Regions from separate parts of the Homo sapiens genome. Here regions 1, 2, 4 and 5 are each linked to region 3. The links are contacts of gene promoters, found by promoter capture Hi-C in human tissues and cell types (Jung and others, 2019). All regions are on one chromosome and are shown on one strand. Each heading gives the region's core, a stretch centred on a gene start or on the middle of the fragment in contact. The rest is flanking DNA. Distances are from core to core; before and after follow the strand shown. Region 1 has its middle 27 kb from the start of TRR-CCT4-1. Region 2 has its middle 14 kb from the start of MIR4468. Region 3 holds the start of TMEM213 (transmembrane protein 213). Region 4 has its middle 100 kb from the start of MIR4468. Region 5 overlaps CREB3L2 (cAMP responsive element binding protein 3 like 2).

Evidence for each region. Contacts are between HindIII fragments. The study calls those that stand out against the background at their distance.
Region 1: a fragment that was not itself captured here is called in contact with the fragment with the promoter of TMEM213 in region 3 in 1 of the 25 tissues and cell types used here (liver).
Region 2: a contact is called between a fragment that was not itself captured here and the fragment with the promoter of TMEM213 in region 3, in 2 of the 25 tissues and cell types used here (hippocampus and stomach).
Region 4: a contact is called between a fragment that was not itself captured here and the fragment with the promoter of TMEM213 in region 3, in 5 of the 25 tissues and cell types used here (IMR-90 fibroblasts, bladder, dorsolateral prefrontal cortex and 2 more).
Region 5: a contact is called between a fragment that was not itself captured here and the fragment with the promoter of TMEM213 in region 3, in 2 of the 25 tissues and cell types used here (mesendoderm cells and thymus).

The regions. Positions count from the first base shown.
Region 1 is chr7:139,311,789-139,315,085 of GRCh38, forward strand. It overlaps a transcript of UBN2 not described here. Among named protein-coding and RNA genes, the nearest start is that of TRR-CCT4-1, 27 kb to the right of the region's middle. The HindIII fragment of the contact is 9,197 bases long and covers 1-3,297 here.
Region 2 is chr7:138,135,941-138,139,465 of GRCh38, forward strand. No RefSeq gene overlaps it. Among named protein-coding and RNA genes, the nearest start is that of MIR4468, 14 kb to the left of the region's middle. RefSeq lists an enhancer at 2,433-2,542. The HindIII fragment of the contact is 7,042 bases long and covers 1-3,525 here.
Region 3 is chr7:138,796,452-138,800,093 of GRCh38, forward strand. TMEM213 (transmembrane protein 213) reads left to right here and starts at 1,543. Exons shown (of 3, transcript NM_001085429.2): 1 at 1,543-1,735. The coding sequence starts at 1,654. ATP6V0A4 (ATPase H+ transporting V0 subunit a4) reads right to left here and starts at 1,745. Exons shown (of 22, transcript NM_020632.3): 1 at 1,583-1,745. RefSeq lists a silencer at 1,513-1,807. The HindIII fragment of the contact is 6,104 bases long and covers 1-3,642 here.
Region 4 is chr7:138,222,023-138,225,257 of GRCh38, forward strand. No RefSeq gene overlaps it. Among named protein-coding and RNA genes, the nearest start is that of MIR4468, 100 kb to the left of the region's middle. The HindIII fragment of the contact is 4,590 bases long and covers 1-3,235 here.
Region 5 is chr7:137,994,950-137,998,689 of GRCh38, forward strand. All of the region lies in intron 1 of CREB3L2 (cAMP responsive element binding protein 3 like 2), which reads right to left. Among named protein-coding and RNA genes, the nearest start is that of CREB3L2, 5.3 kb to the right of the region's middle. The HindIII fragment of the contact is 4,722 bases long and covers 1-3,687 here.

The sequences.
Region 1 (3,297 bases), core at 781-3,280, 520 kb after region 3:
TTCATCACAGGTATCAGAAACCCCTGGCTGAAAAAGTCAAGGGAATCTGGTTCATCTGAGTGGTCTTACAGATATTTGGTTTAGATGTAGCGTCATGGAGTGATTCCACGTCACCAAGATCCAGCTCTGTCTCCACTCTGCCATTCCAAGGGCCTGGCTCCGCAGGGAGTCCGTGACAGCCTCAGTCTCTCTTTCTATAGTCAAATGCCTGCTGTAGTTTCAAACTACATGCGAGTATGTGCTGTGGATAATTTCTTACTTTGTACTCAAATGCAAAGTAATGCGTCAATCATATGCCTTGATTCATAGCACATTGTCATCAGTCAGCTGGAGAACTCATTCCCTCACTTCATTATCCATGAAGTTTCTCCTCTTCCTTAGTCCCCACTCTGCTCTGTCCCACAGGCACCACTCTAACTTTTTTGATATGTGCCCCTTGTTTCGCAGGCATTCTTCGAAGTAAGTAGTGTTGTGTCGTGTGTATACAATTTTAATTCATACCAATAGTACTGTGGTAGCCATGTTTACTGTTTTCTACTTACTTAGATACATCCACGTTGCTATGCGTACATTTAGGGTGTTGCTTCTTACTGCTACACGGATTCCCTAGTGTGCACGCACCACATTATACATACCTGTTCCCCTCACAGTGGGTAACTAGGTTATCTTCAATTCCTTATTACCAAAAACAAGGTGATAGTTAGTCTTCCCTTCTGTCAACTGCGTGTTGATCTTTGCTCATCGTGCAATTGCATTTTGGTTTCTTGTTGTGGACATTAATCTCTTACCAGTTTTAGATGTGTCAGTTACTTTTGTCTGTTACCTGTCTTTTAACTTTGTCTGTGACATCCTTTATTGAACGAAATCCTTTTTAATTAATCTACTTTTTGTCTTATGTTTGTGTTTTGGGCAGTTTACTTATGAAATATTTCCCTAGCCCTACACCACAAAGATATCCTCCAGCATTTTCTCCTATGAGCTTTATAGTTTTGCCTTCACCTTTTCATTTACAATCCATCTGGCATCCACCTTTGTATACTGTGTAATGTAGGGATCCAGCTTTATTTTTCTGTATTTAGTGAAGCAGTTTTCCCAATACCACCTAACAGATCAATATTTCTCCCATTAATTTGTGGTACCATTTTTATCATATATCCAGTTCTCATATATGGAAAGATCTATTTTTGGGCTCTGTTCCATTGTTCTTTTTATTTCCACACCAGTATCTTACTGTTTTCTATTACCATAGACTTAAAAATATGCCTTAGTATCTAGTAAAGAGAGTCCCCGTCTTTGTTACTCTATGTTGGCCCAGCTAATTATGGATTTTTATTCTTCCATAGAAATTTTAGAATAAAATTTTCCACTTCCATTTAAAATCCAGTTGAAATATTGATTAGGATTGAATTTGCATTAAATTCACATTCTTTGGGGCCTATATAGTGGTTTAAGAAGAATAATAGAATCTTTAAGTTACAGATTTTTTTTGTGTCTTCCAATAAAGCTTTTAAAACTTCTCTATGAAGGTCTTGTTTATATATTAATTTCGAGGTATTTTATAGCTGTTGCTTCCATGAATTGTATCTTATTCTTTGTTTTCTGATTTATTGTTGGTACTAAGGAATGCTATTGATCCTTTAAAGTTGATTTTATATCGAGCAATTTTGCTAAACTGTTATTCTAATAATTCATCTGATTATTTTACTAGCTTTTCAATGGAAGTGATCATATAATGTACAAATAATGACAGTTTTATCTCCTCTTTCAATTTCACATTTTACGTCTTAGAGCATTAGACTGGTCCTTTAATACTATGCTAAACAGTAATGGGGAACGTGGCATCTTTGTTCCATATTTTAATGGGAACATTAAAATCTTTGTTCCTTATTGATCTAAGTCTTCTCCATTAAGGATGGTGTTATTCTAGATTTTTGGTATATAGTTTTTATGAACTTAAGAAAGTTCTATTCCTAATTTTCTGGGAAGGTTGATTATATGCATGCGCTGAATTAGATCAAGTGCTTTTCCCATAATACCTATATATGATCAACAATGACAGAATTTTTTTTTTTTTTTTGAGACAGAGTTTTGCTCTTGTTGCCCAGGCTGGAGTGCAGTGGCGCAATCTCAGCTCATTGCAACCTCCGCCTCCTGGGTTCAAGTGATTCTCTTGCCTCAGCCTCCCAAGTAGCTGGGATTACAGGCGTGTGCCACCATGCCTGGCTAATTTTGTATTTTTAGTAGAGATGGGGTTTCACCATGTTGGTCAGGCTGGCCTTGAACTCCTGACTTCAGGTGATCCGCCTGCCTCAGCCTCCCAAAGTGCTGGGATTACAGGCGTGAGTCACCGCACCTGGCCCAGAAACTCTTTTAGAAGTTTATTTGTGGCTGGGTGCAGTGGTTCACGCCTGTAATCCCAGCACTTTGGGAGGCCAAGGCAGGCGGATCACAAGGTCAGGAGTTCAAGACTAGCCTGGCCAATATGGTGAAACCCCATCTCTACTAAAAATACAAAAATTAGCTGGGTGTGGATATGGGCTCCTGTAGTCCCAGCCACTGGGGAGTCTGAGGCAGGAGAATCGCTTGAACCCGGGAGGCAGAGAGAGGTTGCAGTGAGCTGCTATCGTGCCACTGTACTCCAGCCTGGGCGACAAAGAGAAACTCCATCTCAAAAAAAGAAGTGTATTTGTAGGATTACTTATTTATTTATTTTTTTAGACGGAGTCTTGCTGTGTCGCCCAGGCTGGACTGCTATGGTCTGATCTCGGCTCACTGCAACCTCTGTCTCCCCGGTTCAAGCTAGTGTCCTGCCTCAGCCTCCCAAGTAGCTGGAATTATAGGAATGCACCACCACACCCAGCTAATTTTTGTATTTTTAGTAGAGACAGGGTCTCACCATGTTGGCCAGGATGGTCATGAACTCCTGACTTCAGGGGATCTGCCCACCTGACCTCCCAAAGTGCTGGGATTACAGGCGTGAGCCACGGTGCCCGGCCAATTTTTAATTGATTGTAACCTCCAGTGTGTTTGCTTCTGTTTTCATGCTGTGCCTTGTTTCGATGCATCATCTGACTCTTAATCAGTCTTGCCATTCTTCCTTCTCAATAACTTTTCAAAGAACCGTGAATGTTTTTGGATGCATATATGTTCATTATGGTTATATCTTTTTGATATAATAATAATAATAATATTATTATTATTATTTGAGATGGAATCTCGCTCTGTCGCCCATGCTGGAGTGCAGTGGCACAATCTCGGCTCACTGCAAGCTCCGCCTCCCGGGTTCACGCCAATCTC
Region 2 (3,525 bases), core at 494-2,993, 660 kb before region 3:
TTTTTTTTTTGAGATGGAGTTTCGCTCTTTCGCCCAGGCTGGAGTGCAGTGGTGCAAGCTCTGCTCACTCCAACCTCCGCCTTCCAGTTTCAAGCAATTCTCCTGCCTCAGCATCCCAAGTAGCTAGGATTACAGGTGCCCACCACCACACCCAGCTAATTTTCATGTTTTTAGTGGAGACAGGGTTTCACCATGTTGGTCCGGCTGGTCTCAAACTCCTGACCTCGTAATCGGCCCACCTCGGCCTCCCAAGTGCTGGGATTACAGGCATAAGCCACCACATTGGCTTATTAGTGATTTAATATTTAATCTCCTTACTGATCTGTCCGAATTTTCTATTTCTTCATGATTCAGTCTTGTCAGGTTGTATATTTCTAGGAATTTATCTGTTTATTCTAGGTTATCCAATTTGTTGTTATATAATTATTCATAGTAGTCTCCTATGATCCTTGTATTTCCTTCTTTTTTTTTTTTTTTTTTTTTTTTTTTGACAGAGTCTCACCCTATTGCCCAGGCTGGAATGCAGTGGCGCGATCTCAGCTCACTGCACCCTCTGCCTCTTAGGTTCAGATTATTCTTGTGCCTTAGCCTCCTGAGTAGCTGGGACAACAGGCGCACACGACTATGCCCAGATAATTTTTGTATTTTTAGCAGAGACGGGGTTTTGCCATGTTGGCCAGGCTGATCTCGAACTCCTGACCTTAAGTGATCCACCCACCTTGGCCTGGGCCACTGTGCCCAGCCAATCCTTTGTATTTCTGTGTTATCTGCTGTAATGGCTCCTCTTTGGTTTCTAATTTTATTTGAGTCATCTCTCTTTTGTTCTTAGGCTAGCTAAAGGTTTGTCAATTTTGTTTATGTCTTCAAAAAAGTTTTGTTGATCTTTTCTATTCTTTTCCTATTCTCTTTTTTTTTTCCTGCTCTGATCTGTATTATTTCGTTTCTTCTACTAACATTGGGCTTAGTTTGTTCTTCTTTTTTGAGTTCCTTAAGGAATAATGTTAGATTACTTATTTGAGATCCTTCTTCTTTTTTAATGTAGGTATTTATTGCTATAAACTTCCTTGTTGGAACTGTTTTTACTGCATTCCATACATTTTGTTATGTAGGGTTTCCATTTTTGTTTGTCTCAATATATTTTTTTTAATTTCTCCTTCAATTTCTTCTTTGACCCATTGGTTGTTCAGGAGTATGATGTTTAATTTCCATATATTTCTGAGTTTCCAGTTTTCCTTCTGTTATTTATTTCTAATTTCATACCACTGTTGTTGGAAAAGATAGTTGACATAGTTTCATTTTTTTTAATTTTTATAAAATATACAAAAATATACATAGATACATATAATAGATTTTTATAATAAATACATTAAAATATACATAAATAGAGTCTTGATACGTTGACCAGGCTGGTCTCAAATTCCTGGCTTCATGCGATCCTCCCATCTCAGCCTCCCAAAGTGCTAGAATTACAGACAGGAGCCACCACTCCTGACCACATTGTTTCAATTTTTGAAATTTGTTAAGACTTGTTTTGTGGCCTAATATATGATCTTAGAGAATGTTTTATGTGTGCTTCAGAAGAATGTGTATCCTGCTGCTGTTGGATGGAATATTCTGTATGTGTCTGTTAGGTCCATTTAGTCTAAAGTATAGTTCAAGTCCAATGTTTTCTTATTGATTTTCTGTCTGGAAAATCTATCCATTGTTGAAAGTGCAATGTTGAAGTCTCCTACTATTATTGTCTTGCTGTCTACTTCTCCCTTCAGACCTATTAATATTTTCTTTATGTATTTATGTTCTCCAATGTTGGGTACATAATAGTGTGTGTGTGTGTGTGTGTGTGTGTGTATTATATATTGTTCCATATTACCTATTGTTCTATCATCTTGATGAATTGATCTCTTTATCACGATATAATGGCACTGTATGTCTCTTTTCACAGTTTTTGACTTAAAATGTATTTGTCTGACATAAGTGTGGCTACTCCTCCTCTCTTCTGGTTTCCTTTTGTATGGGATGTCTTTTTATATCTCTTTACTTTCAGTTCACGTTTATTCTTGAAGCTGAAGTGAGTGTTTTGTAAGCAGCATAGAGTTGAGTCTTTTTTCTATCCTTTCAGCCATTCCATGTCTTTTGATCAGTGAGTTTAATTTATTTAATGTAAAATAATTACTGAAAGTAAGGACTATTTCCATTTTGTTCATTGTTGTCTGGCTGTTTGGCAGATCCTTTGTTTCTTTCTTCCTCTCTTGCTGTCTTTCTTTGTGATATGATGATTTTCTGTAATGGTATTGTCTTATTCTGTTTTGTATTGCTATGAAGGGATATCCGAGGCTGAGTAATTTTTAAAGAAAAAAGGTTTCTTTGGCTACAATTCTGATGTTTGGAAAAGTTCAAGATTGGGCATCTGGTGAGGGCTTCCATTTATGGTAGGAGGTGAAGGGGAGCTGGAATATGCAGAGATCTCATGGCAAGAGAGGAAGCCAGAGGCGGAGGTGCAAGGCTCTGTTTAACAATTACCTCTCATGGGAACTAACAGAGTGAGAACACAGTCACCCCCAATGGAGGGCATTAACTTACTCATGAGAGATCTGCCCCCACAATCCAAACATCTCACATTACGCCCCACCTCCAACATAGAAAATCAAATTTCAACATGAGTCCAAAATACCACATGTTCTCATTTATAAGTGGGAGCTAAGCTATGGGCACACAAAGGCATACAGAATGGTATAATGGGCATTAGAGACTCAGAAGGGAAGAGGGTGAGAGGGGGCTGAGGGATGAAAAACTACCTATTGGGTACAATGTACACTACTCAGGTGACAGATGCACTAAAATCCTAGACTTCACCACTATCCAATTCATCCATGTAACCAAAAAACACTAGTGCCTCTGAAGCTACTGAAATTTAAAAGTTTTTTAAAAATTCAACATGAGGTTTAAAGTAGACAAACCATATTTAAACTATAACTAGATACGCTTTCATTCATTTCTCTTTATCTTTTACGTATCTTTGATAGGTCTTTTCTTTGTGATTACCATGAGGCTTACATATAACACCTTATAGTTATAACATGCTATTTTAAGCTTATAGTAATTTAAATTTGATCCCCTCCCCAACATTCTCTATATATATTTTAATTATGACATTTGAAGAAACTTGAAAAAAATAAATATTTTATACACCACACACACACACACACACACACACACACACACACACACACAAAGTCTTACTCTGTTACCCAGGCTGGAGTGCAATGGCATGATCTTGACTCACTACAACGTCCACCTCCTGGGTTCAAGCAGTTCTCCAACCTCAGCCTCTTGAGTAGCTGGGATTACGGGTGCATGCAACCATGCCCTGGTAATTTTTGTATTTTTAGTAGAGATGGGGTTTCACCATGTTGGCCAGGCTGCTCTCGAACTCCTGGCCTCAAGTGATCTGACTGCATTGGCCTCCCAGTGTGCCGAGATTACAGGTGTGAACCACCACGTCTGGCCACATTCTGTATTTTTGAT
Region 3 (3,642 bases), core at 293-2,792:
CCTTCTATGTCTTTCCACAGAGCTGGAGTCCACCCCTCACCCTTACCAGGCCCATTCATGCGCAGGAACACTTCCACACATGGCAGGCTGTGTGCACACAGACGATTCCCTCGCCTTTATAGGTGCTATTCCTTTGACTTGAAAAGCCCATCAACTCTAATCTGCACATACAAACTTCAGCACCCAGCCCAAATGTCACTTTCTCTGTGAATCCTTCCCCTATACCTCTCAGGCAGAGTTCATCCCATCCTCCTTTTTATTCCCATCACAGTGGAAGGTACCCCTATTTGAGTCTTGCCAGGTTGCATCAAATTTCTTTCTTCCGGGTTTGGTTCCCTGCTGCACTGTGCTCTCAAGGGGAAGAGGCGTGTCTCAGTCATCTCAGTCTCCAGTGCCTAGGATGAGACCTTTTATATACATGTGGGTCTTCAATAAATGTTTTAGACGGAATGCAGAGCTCTAGTCAAGTTACTCCTCAGCTCAAAATCTCTACAGAACCTTCCCCTTTGCTTCCTGACTTTGTTTCAAATTCCTCTACCAGGCACGCAGAAGCTTAGCCCACAGCTCTCCTCTTGCCTCCCCACCTCACATGCCTTGGCTCACCTGCGCTTCTGGGTGCTGCTGGTACAGCCACCCTCTGACACTTCCTTACCTCTGGACCTTTGCTCATCTGTCCCTCTACCTATAATGCCATCTTCCCCTCTCCCCCTGTCAAAATTCTAGCCATCCTTCAAGGCCCAGGCCAAATGCCATTTTCTTTTTTTTTTTTTTTTTTTTTTTGGAGATGGAGTCTCCCTCTGTCGGCCAAGCTGGAATGCAGGGTCAGGAGCATCTCAGCTTACTGCAACCTCTGTCTTCCGGGTTCAAGCGATTTTCCTGCCTCAGCTTCCCAAGTGGCTGGGACTACAGGCATGCACCACCACACCTGGCTAATTTTTGTATTTTTATTAGAGATGGGGTTTCACCATTTTGGCCAGGCTGGTCTTGAACTCCTGACTTCAAGTGATCCACCTGCCTCAGCCTCCCAGAGTGCTGGGACTACAGGGTGAGCCCCCATGCCCAACCTCAAATGCCATTTTCTTCTTGAAGCATCCCATCAGCAGATGTGGCCTCCACTGTTGAAACCCACAGTGCTTTATCCTCCCAAGCCATTCCTCAAACACGGTTCTGGGGTTGAATGATGCGTGTTTGTAATTAACGCACTTCGACAGCAGGTATCTCCCAACTTCAGCATAGTGGGTGCTCAGTGAATATTGGCCCAAATGGAATTGAGCATCCATGCTACACCTGCAGATGGGAGAGGCAGCAAACTCATGTCCCAGGAACCAGCATGACACAGATCTCTCTTGTCCTCCCCTTGTTTCTCAATAAGGACAATATTTGCGCTCAGGGGAGAAGGGCACAGCTTGCCCCTCCCTTCCTTCCTCAGCCAACGGTTTGGCTTCCCTTCTAGAGAGGTGAGAGAAGGTGTGACAGGCCAAGTTTCCTTTGCTCCACCCCATGGTGTTTCCCCCAAACACCCAGCATAAGTTCACCTCTGGCAGAGTTGCTTTCCAGCTCCTGCAGGTGGGAGTCGACTCACCTGCAGCAGGCACTCGGCACAACTCCGCAGGACCGGCTCACCTGCACCGGGCACTCAGCACAGCCTCCAGCATGCAGCGCCTCCCCGCTGCCACCCGGGCCACCCTGATCCTCAGCCTGGCCTTTGCCTCCCTCCACTCGGCTTGCTCGGCAGGTAGCGTTATGAGCTTTATTCATGGCCAGGCTGGGAAGGGGGAGGGAAGGAGGGAAGAGAGGTGGGAGGGAAAGAAGGAGGAGGGGGAAGATTCTTTGGCCAGGGTTGGTCCTGCGCAAAGGAAGGAGGAAACAGAACTTTCTCATCTGAAGGATTAGGCAGGGGGTGGGAGGTGGGGCTGGGGCAGGGGGGGTCTTAGGTTGGCCTGAGACGGAGATCAGATACTCAATTCCTCAGCTAAGGCAGGAGCAGCCACCTCTCTTGGCCTTTGCCACAAAGAAAGGAAAAAGTTATTTGCTGGAGTCTCACCCATCAGGGGACCAAAATGATATCTCTTGGTCCGCTGTGTCCTGAAGGCTCCTTCTCAGCCCCACTGGGCTGTCGTGCTTTGCAATCCTCCCTGTGCACATTTGTGTCTGACCTTCCCTTTCCTAAGTCCTCCATCCCTCCCTGCCCCTTGTACTTTCTCTGCGACTTTCACAAAACCTGACTGCCAGGAGGGCTGCCATTCACTGTCTCCCACCCTCCTGCCTCCCCGGGCACTGGAAATGCTGGGTTATCTCCCCATTTTCCTGTGGAGGCTGGAAGGCTGATCTACATCCCCTGCCTTGCCCTGCCAGGCCGGGTTCTGCAACTCACGGCAGAGGGACCTTGGTTACCATCTTCTGCTCCTGGCTTTGATCTTGTTCTCAGCCACCTCAGAACACCACCACACTCTCTATGCCCTGCAACACTCCTGCTCCCAAAACCAACCCTGCCCCCAAAGTCCTGTGTCTGCCCCTCTCATCCTCAGACTCTCTTCTGTAGCCACTGCCAGGGGTGTTGGTGTTGAGGTTCAAGACGTGCACTCTTGAGCCGCTGAGCCTGAACCCAGGTCCAGCTTCCATGACTCACTAGCTATGCGACCTCGAGCAAATGACTTTACCTCTCTATGCCAAGTTTCCTCCTTTATCTCATGGGGACAATCATAGTGCTTGTCAAGACGAATTGATGTAATTTCATGTAAAGAACTTAGAAATAGCCCATAGAACACACACAGTGAATGTCAGCAATTATGGTAAGCACATTCATTTTATTTTCCAACTTCACCCCTCCCCAAATAAGAGTGCTGAGTTTCTTTCTACTTACCCCGACAGTGCCTTGCTTATGATGGGAGCTCAGAATCAGAAGACAAGTTTAACTGCACTGAATCGTTGGGTCTTCCCAGCAGCTTTTCTTGTGGAATAGCCCCAAGTAGGGCCAGTCCCTCCCTCGCTTCTGGCTCTGCTTATAAGGGAGGAGGGCGATGTTTAAATTCTTAGGAATTTTCACCGGGGCTATTCCATTTGAACCACAGAAAATTGCTGATATTGAACAATTTTCACCTATAACAATGGCAATTTCATAAGCTCGAACCTAACCCTAGCATTCAGCCAACTAGGGTTTTTTTCCACTCACTTTGGAAGAGGACAACTTCCATTCTAGGTGTAGAGGTGAAATGAAAGTCAGGGCCAAGGAAGTTATTTGAGTCATAAGGAAAATTAGAATAGTGAGGAATCAGTTTCTCCAAAACAAATAAAGACCAGGCTCTAAGCCATTTAGCTGTAAATAATTTACAGTAACAGATTGCATCGAGGCAATTACTATACTTTAAGCAGGACATTGGAGTGGCTTGGGGGTTGGGTGGCATAAAATTAGTCTCAGCAGCAACTTCATGGCTTTAGCTAAACAGCAGGTTTCTTCTGAACTCGTCCTGCTGTGACAACAAGCTCCCTTGAAGGACACACTGACCCACAGCCAGGGGAACCTTGAGAGTTTCCATGCCCACCACTTTTTTTTTTTTCCTTTTTGCATTCCCCAAGAAGCAGAACGAACAGCAATATAATTTCTAGGAAGGTTCTTCCAATCCATCTCTTGGTTTCCATCTA
Region 4 (3,235 bases), core at 411-2,910, 570 kb before region 3:
TCCTGTTTAGTCACTGCCCATCAAGGGTCCACAGTTGAGGAGAGAGGAGAGAGGAGAGAGGAGAGAGGAGAGAGGAGAGAGAGATTCCCCTGTATGGAACAGAAAGGAAAATGAGAAAAATAAACCCCAAGCTTTGGGCTTACCTCCTGACTGGCTTGCCAAAATATGTTACCGGTTGAGGTGTCCAGGTTCTTAGCATTTTAAACAAAAAATTAGACAAAATGCACAAATGAAGCAAGAAAAGAATGAAGCAATAAAAGCAGAGATTTATTGAAACAAAAGCACACTCCACAGAGCGGGAGCGGCCCCAGCAAGTGGCTAGCCCAGTTACAGAATTCTCTGGGGTTTAAATACCCTCTGGAGGTTTCCCATTGATTACTTGGTGTAAGCCCTTTGTAAATGAAAAGGCTGAAGTGAAGTTACAAAGTTATTTACTTGGAGTACACACTATGAAAATAAAGAAGATGAAGTGAGGTTACAAAGTTATTTACTTGGTGTACACCTTATGCAAATTAAGAGGATGTTTCCTGTCATAGCTGAAGTAGAGATACAAAGTTATTTACTTGGTCTAAGAAAGTTGGAGTTTTTCTGTTTGATTTAGTTCTAAGAAGGCCTTAGGTTTCCTGCTCCCAGACCTTATTCTCCTGCCTCAAAACTGTCATTAAAATGTTTTGTCTCTGAAAGTAAGATGCATATAACTACCTTCTAACAAATTAATTCCTAATGATTTCTTAATTATTCTAGTGAGTTCTTAGTGTAATTAAATATTTGTGCTTCCTATTTATTTAATCATTCAATTTGTAGAATTTGTATAGAATGACTTCATTCTTGCTATAATTTTTATTAAGAAATAAATATAGTCAGGCATGATGGCTCATGTTTGTAATCCTAGCATTTTGGGAAGCCAAGGAAGGAGAATCTCTTGAGCCCAGGATTTGAGACCAGCCTAGGTAACACAGGGAGACCTTGTCTCTATTTTAAAGAGAATAAATAAAGAAAGAAAAATTATAATACCTTCTAAAAATTGTGCTTAAGGAAAAGAAAACTAATTATACTCAAGGAAGGGATACCTTTTTCCTAAATCTCACAAAAGCTGGCTACAGGTGCTAAGGCATAGCTCTCAAAATGTTAAAAACATAATTCTAATACAACTAGTGAGTTCATGTCAAATATTTATTAAACTCATTAATAAGGAACCCAGAAGGATGAAAAGCCCAGTTCAAAAGAGAATTTAAGAAACTAGATTTTTATGATAAGTGGAGAGGGGGCAGTAATGCTGAAATAAAGTTGTTAAATTAGATAAAGTTATATGATGATTAAAACCCTAAGGGGGCCAGGTGCCATTCACTCCTATAATCCCAGCACTTTGGGAGGCTGAGGTGGGAGGATTGAGAGAAGAGAGAGGAAGGAACTAGTTAGGCAGATAGTTCAGACAGACACCCAGTAGAAGCCCTTCCAACAAAGGATCAGCCTGGAAGAAATCAAGCTGCAAGCACAGATAAGGAAGCAAGGCTCAACACATTTATCTTTTGAGCAACAAATGAGCTCCAGGTATACAGAGTGGGCTTCAGTGAGCGCATTCCTTTCCTTTTTGGGCATATTCAGATAAGGGGACTGGCATCAGGGGGCTTGCCTAAGACAGGCCTGCAGCTGTATAGATTAAATTTACACTGAATCAGGCAGGTCCACAATGGAAAATTCCATCTCCTGACACGTGTGCAGTAAGGGAAATGACACAATATGGAGTAACTCATGTTAAGAACTCACATGCTCACTAGAGGGATGGGGTGGAGCTGTCAGAAATTTGCATCTTATGCAAATAAGGAACTGGTTTTTTGCACCATATGCAAATGAAACACCCCACCCCACTGGCTTGTTTATAAAAGACTTTGTATTCAACTGTGAAATAGCAACGCTCTCAGGCCCCATCTCCACAGAGGAAAGCTTTCTTCTTTCACTTATTAAACTTTTGCTCCAACCTCACTTTTGGTGTCCACACTCCTTAATTCTCTTGGTCATGAGACAAAGAGCTCAGATAACACCCCAGACAACAAGACTGCTCCAGAGACCCTAGACGGCTTCAGGATCACTTGAGGCCAGGAGTTCAAGAGCAGCCTGGGCAGCATAGTGACCTCATCTCTACAAAAATTTAAAGAATTAGCTCGGCATAGTGGTACGCACCTGAGGTGGGAGGATTGCTTGAGCCCTGGAGTTTGAGGCTGCAGTGAGATATGATACCACCACTGCACTCCAGCCTGAGTAACAGAGACCCTGTCTCTAAAATTTTAAAAAATAATAATCTTACAGGAATAATACGATCATAACCTTCTTGTTTGAGGTCAGGAGTTTGAAACCAGCCTGGACAACATAATGAGACCTTGTCTCTAGAAAAAAATAAAAAAATAAGGCAGGAGGATGGCTTGAGCTCAGGAGGTCACGCCACTGCACTCCCACCTGGGTAACAGAGCCAGACCCTGCCTCGAAAAAAATTATTTTAAAAAATCATAACCTTCTGCTTTACCTTTCCTACTCAACAAAAAAGAAAGTTGTTGTACCAGATCAACTTTACAGAATTGCAAAGTCTCTGGGTTCTAATGAATTATGCCAACAAGCTTAAATTTCCTGAGTCAGATGGTCCTTGGGTGGGCTTGCTAGAAATGTTCTTAGCATGACATTAATCACCTTTCGCCTTAGGTCCAAGTTTTCGATAATGTTCCTTAACATGGGCTAGTGGTAGCCCCGCATATTCACAGCAAAGCAGGACTCAGTACTTGATTGTATAAAAAACAAAATGATATAAAACCAGTATGAACTCATAAGGCATAGTGGAGTGAAGAAGATTTTACTAAAGACTTTACAGTGAGATTGAAGAGAGAGTTACACTGTATCTCTCACAGCAAAACTTACATCCTTCGTTTATCATGATTGTTGTCTTAGCTACATTGCTTCCCCCTTGGCCCTCCCCAATTCTTTCTCTACCTATTCTATTTTTTTTCCTAGTGCAAAGAAATATACCTTCTTCAAACTTGCATCCTCACACCTGGTAGCCCCCAACTCAAGCAATAAATGGGCATTTTACAAATGAAGATCCAAAATGAGTGATCAATTCCAAATCAATTCTTTTTGTTCTTCTTAATGTCACCACTGGTCAGAAGTAAGCCATTTTGCCTCAAGAAGAAAACAAACAAACAAACAAAAAAACACCATATGGATAAGATAATCCAGGCTTGTTAAT
Region 5 (3,740 bases), core at 77-2,576, 800 kb before region 3:
TTACTAATGATCCCAATGGTCATGCTGGTTGAGTCTCCATCCCCATATGATTAATCTAAGCTGATAATATAAATCCCATTCTCCTTTCCAGCCATTGGCTTAAGAATGGTCATATGACCGAATCCTTACCAATAAAGCTTTAAGAAAAATCAGCTAGTGGGCTAGTAAGAAAAGTTTCTTCCATTCTAAAAAAGGGACACAAGAAAGAGACAACTTCTCTTCTTCCTCTGGATGTTGTCATTTTGAATGTAACCCCTGTAACTCCTATGTCCATCACACATCCAACCTGAGGATGAAAGCTGCACATGGGCAGAACCAAGGTCCATTGAGGAACTGCTGAATCAGCCAACAAGGAGCTCTATTTCTTTTTTTTTCTTTTCTTTCTTTTTTTTTTTTTTTTTTTGAGACAGAATCTCACTCTGTCACCAAGGCTGGAGTGCAGTGGCATGATCTTGGCTCACTGCAACCTCCACCCCCCAGGTTCAAGGGATTCTCCTGCCTCAGCCTCCCGAGTAGCTGGGATTACAGGCGCCCGCCACCACGCCCAGCTAATTTTTGTATTTTTAGTAGAGACAGGGTTTCACCATCTCGGCCAGGCTGCTCTTGAACTCCTGACCTTGTGATCCACCTGCCTTGGCCCCCCAAAGTGCTGGGATTACAGGCGTCAGCCACCGCGCCCGGCCAGGGGCTCTATTTCACAACCTCTTGCAACATGAGATAATTTACTTACTGTATGAGCCGATCTGAATCCATTTTCAGTTACTTCTAGCTGCAAGCACTGTAATTAATTCAATTATTAATCTAGATGCTATATCTTATAACTCCTGCAAAAGCAATGTCACATCAGAGACCCCTGTTTCCCATGAACACTGTAACTCAGGGATCATTCGAGAAGGAGGGCAAATATAAAACTCTGTACTGCCCTCTCATCTTTCAGGACTGTGCCTATGTCTACCACCTCCCAACCAATGTTACTATCATGAGAACAATTTCAGAGACAGTAAAATAATCCGTCAAAGATTTTTTGCTAAGCCAAGGGAAATCCTCTAGATCATAGACAAATTAGCAACACATAAACAAGGCTGCCTTATGAATAAGAGCCACATTATGAAATAATGGAGGGCAGTGAGGGTTCCTCTCCCATTCCCCAAATATTCGCCCACTACTACCTGGCTATCGCCCTAGGTTCTCCAAGTGGAGATTCACCCTTTTGACCTGAAGTAATTATTGTTAAATATAAATGCCCATTTAGGGTTAACATGTTAAATCTTACTAACACTAAAATTTCTAGTGAAAGCTTATCAAATCTTTCCTGACAGCAAAATTTGAAGGGATGAAATTGGAAAGAGAACATTACAGTGAACACTTGATGTCTAAGAAAGGAGGGGAACACAAAAGGGGCGAGAATGTTGAAAGGTGCCACAAGGGTCTGGAAAAATTATACTTACTTCCCAATTCTGTCTCCCGTTAGAACTCACTACATTTATTCAGCTTGTGGAGGTCATGTGACCATAAGTAATAACATTCTCAGCCAATGAGGACCCGGGTGCCCCTTCAGAACCTGGCCTGGGGCCAACCCTAGGAGTTAACTCCAAAGTGGAACATCAAACCAAAAGCTTCAATATCGCATTGAAATCATATCACTCTCCGGGCCAGGCGGGAGGAACAGGAAACCACACAGTCTGTGAGATCAGCCAACTCCTTTTCAGCACTCAGTAAGACATGGAAGCCAGATGGCCTTTCCATCTGGACACCAGGCAGGTCGAATATTCCCCCAACTCCCTACCTACCACTGTCTGGGACCAGTGGTTTCACTTGAAGAACCAACCAGATATAAAACTGTATTAGCATAACCACCAAATGATTTTACAAATAACTTGGCTTTATAGGAATTCTGCATTTTAAACAAGCAGAACTTCTGTTGTTACTTTCACAAAGACTTAGTTTTTATGATACACTTTTTTAAAAGGATATAATCATGGCGAAAATTGCAAAAATTGTTTTATTTTCCAGATGGCTAAACTGAGATAGAAGAAAGGAGAACATTATCAAGATCTTGATGTTTATCATGGGCAAACCACCTGCCAACCTCTCCCCCTAAAGCCTCTTTCCATGGGGCCTTCCCACTTCCCCTGTTCTTCATCCAACGCCTCCACTGACCTTGAGTGGTGTTGAGTTTCTATATAGTACTGAAGCTCCCTTTTTCCCCCAAGAACACTTGGTTGAAAATTACCTCTAGTCCAGTTTTACATGGTGCCTACAAGTTGTATTTCTTCCATTTTCTAGACATAGTGACGAGGTAAAAATCTGAATAGTACCAACAGGTATAGTGTGTAGACATGCTTCCCTTCATCTCTTGACTTCCACTTCCCCAAGCTGCTTTCCCAAAAATTATCCACTTCTTGAGCATCCTTCCAGATACAGTTTATACATATATAAAATACATTTTAAAATTTATAGATTATTTTGCTCTTTAAATTGCAAAAGGGGGCTGAGCACAGTGGCTCACACCTGTAATCCCAGCACTTTGGGAGGCCAAGGCAAGAGGGTCCCTTAAACCCAGGAGTTGGAGACCAGCCTGGGCAACATACTGAGATCCCGTTTCTACCAAAAAAAAAGAAGAAAAAAATTAGCCAGGCATGGTGGCACACACTGATACTCCCAGCTACTCTGGAGGCTGAGGTGGGAGGATCACTTGAGCCTGGAAGGTTAAGCCTGCAGTGAGCCATGATTGAGCAACTGCACTCTAGTCTGGGTGTCAGAACAAGACCCATCTCAAAAATAAAATAAAATAAAATAAAATAAAATAGAAATTACAAAAGCACAGACAATTCCCAGAAAGTAATTTTCAGAGAATTTTATAGGAATACAATACAAATGGCAGAAATGTCCAACATACAGGCAGGTCTGGGGAAAGAGGCAAGGTTTCTTCTCACGGTGGTACCGAACCCCAAGAGATATTCTCCTGATTTCTAGATTTGCCATCTTTTCTGAACCAATTTTAGCCTGTATTCCATCTTGAAGCAACAGCTTTCCTAAAATCAGTACTCACTGAATTAAAATAACATTTCATCATCTGTATGGAAACAATTTTTTAAGCTTCAAGAGGAAGCCCAGAGCTTTAGCAATTCAGGATCTAATGATCAGTCCATCTTTGCCCTATCCATATGCTTCATTATTTTGTAGACTCTGAACCTGTCTGCCTTTGTCCTTGTAGACCAAGATGTCTTCATAACTAACCAAATGAAAAAAAACATTGCTCCTAACGGTTAACAGAAGGCTCCTGAGAAACATCATAATCTCAGCCTTGGGTAACTTGAACATTCTAAATTGTTTAAATCAAGTATGTGACAGGTTTGCTAAAACAGAGCATTAGCAATCATGCATGTAGTAACTAAATCCCTAGTAAGAGCAACAAAAGTGATCTCACTAGGAAGGTTTGGTGGCTGCCACTGTCAGCCTCATTTAAACATTAGCTGCTTTCAGGCTCAGCAGTTCCTATATTCCAATCACTCTCTCCCAACCTCTTATTCAGTTCCTTCTCTTTAAGTCAGGATTCTTCACTCAGACAGCCTGATAGGCAAGTACTTGCAGGCAGGCAAACATGGGTTTGAATCCTGGTTCTATCACTAAATAGCTGTGGGAACTGAGCCAAGTGGCTTAAACTCACGAAGCCTCATTTTTCTTATATGTAAAATAAAAGTAATAAAAATGGCTCATTTCACTGGGTCATTACAAGG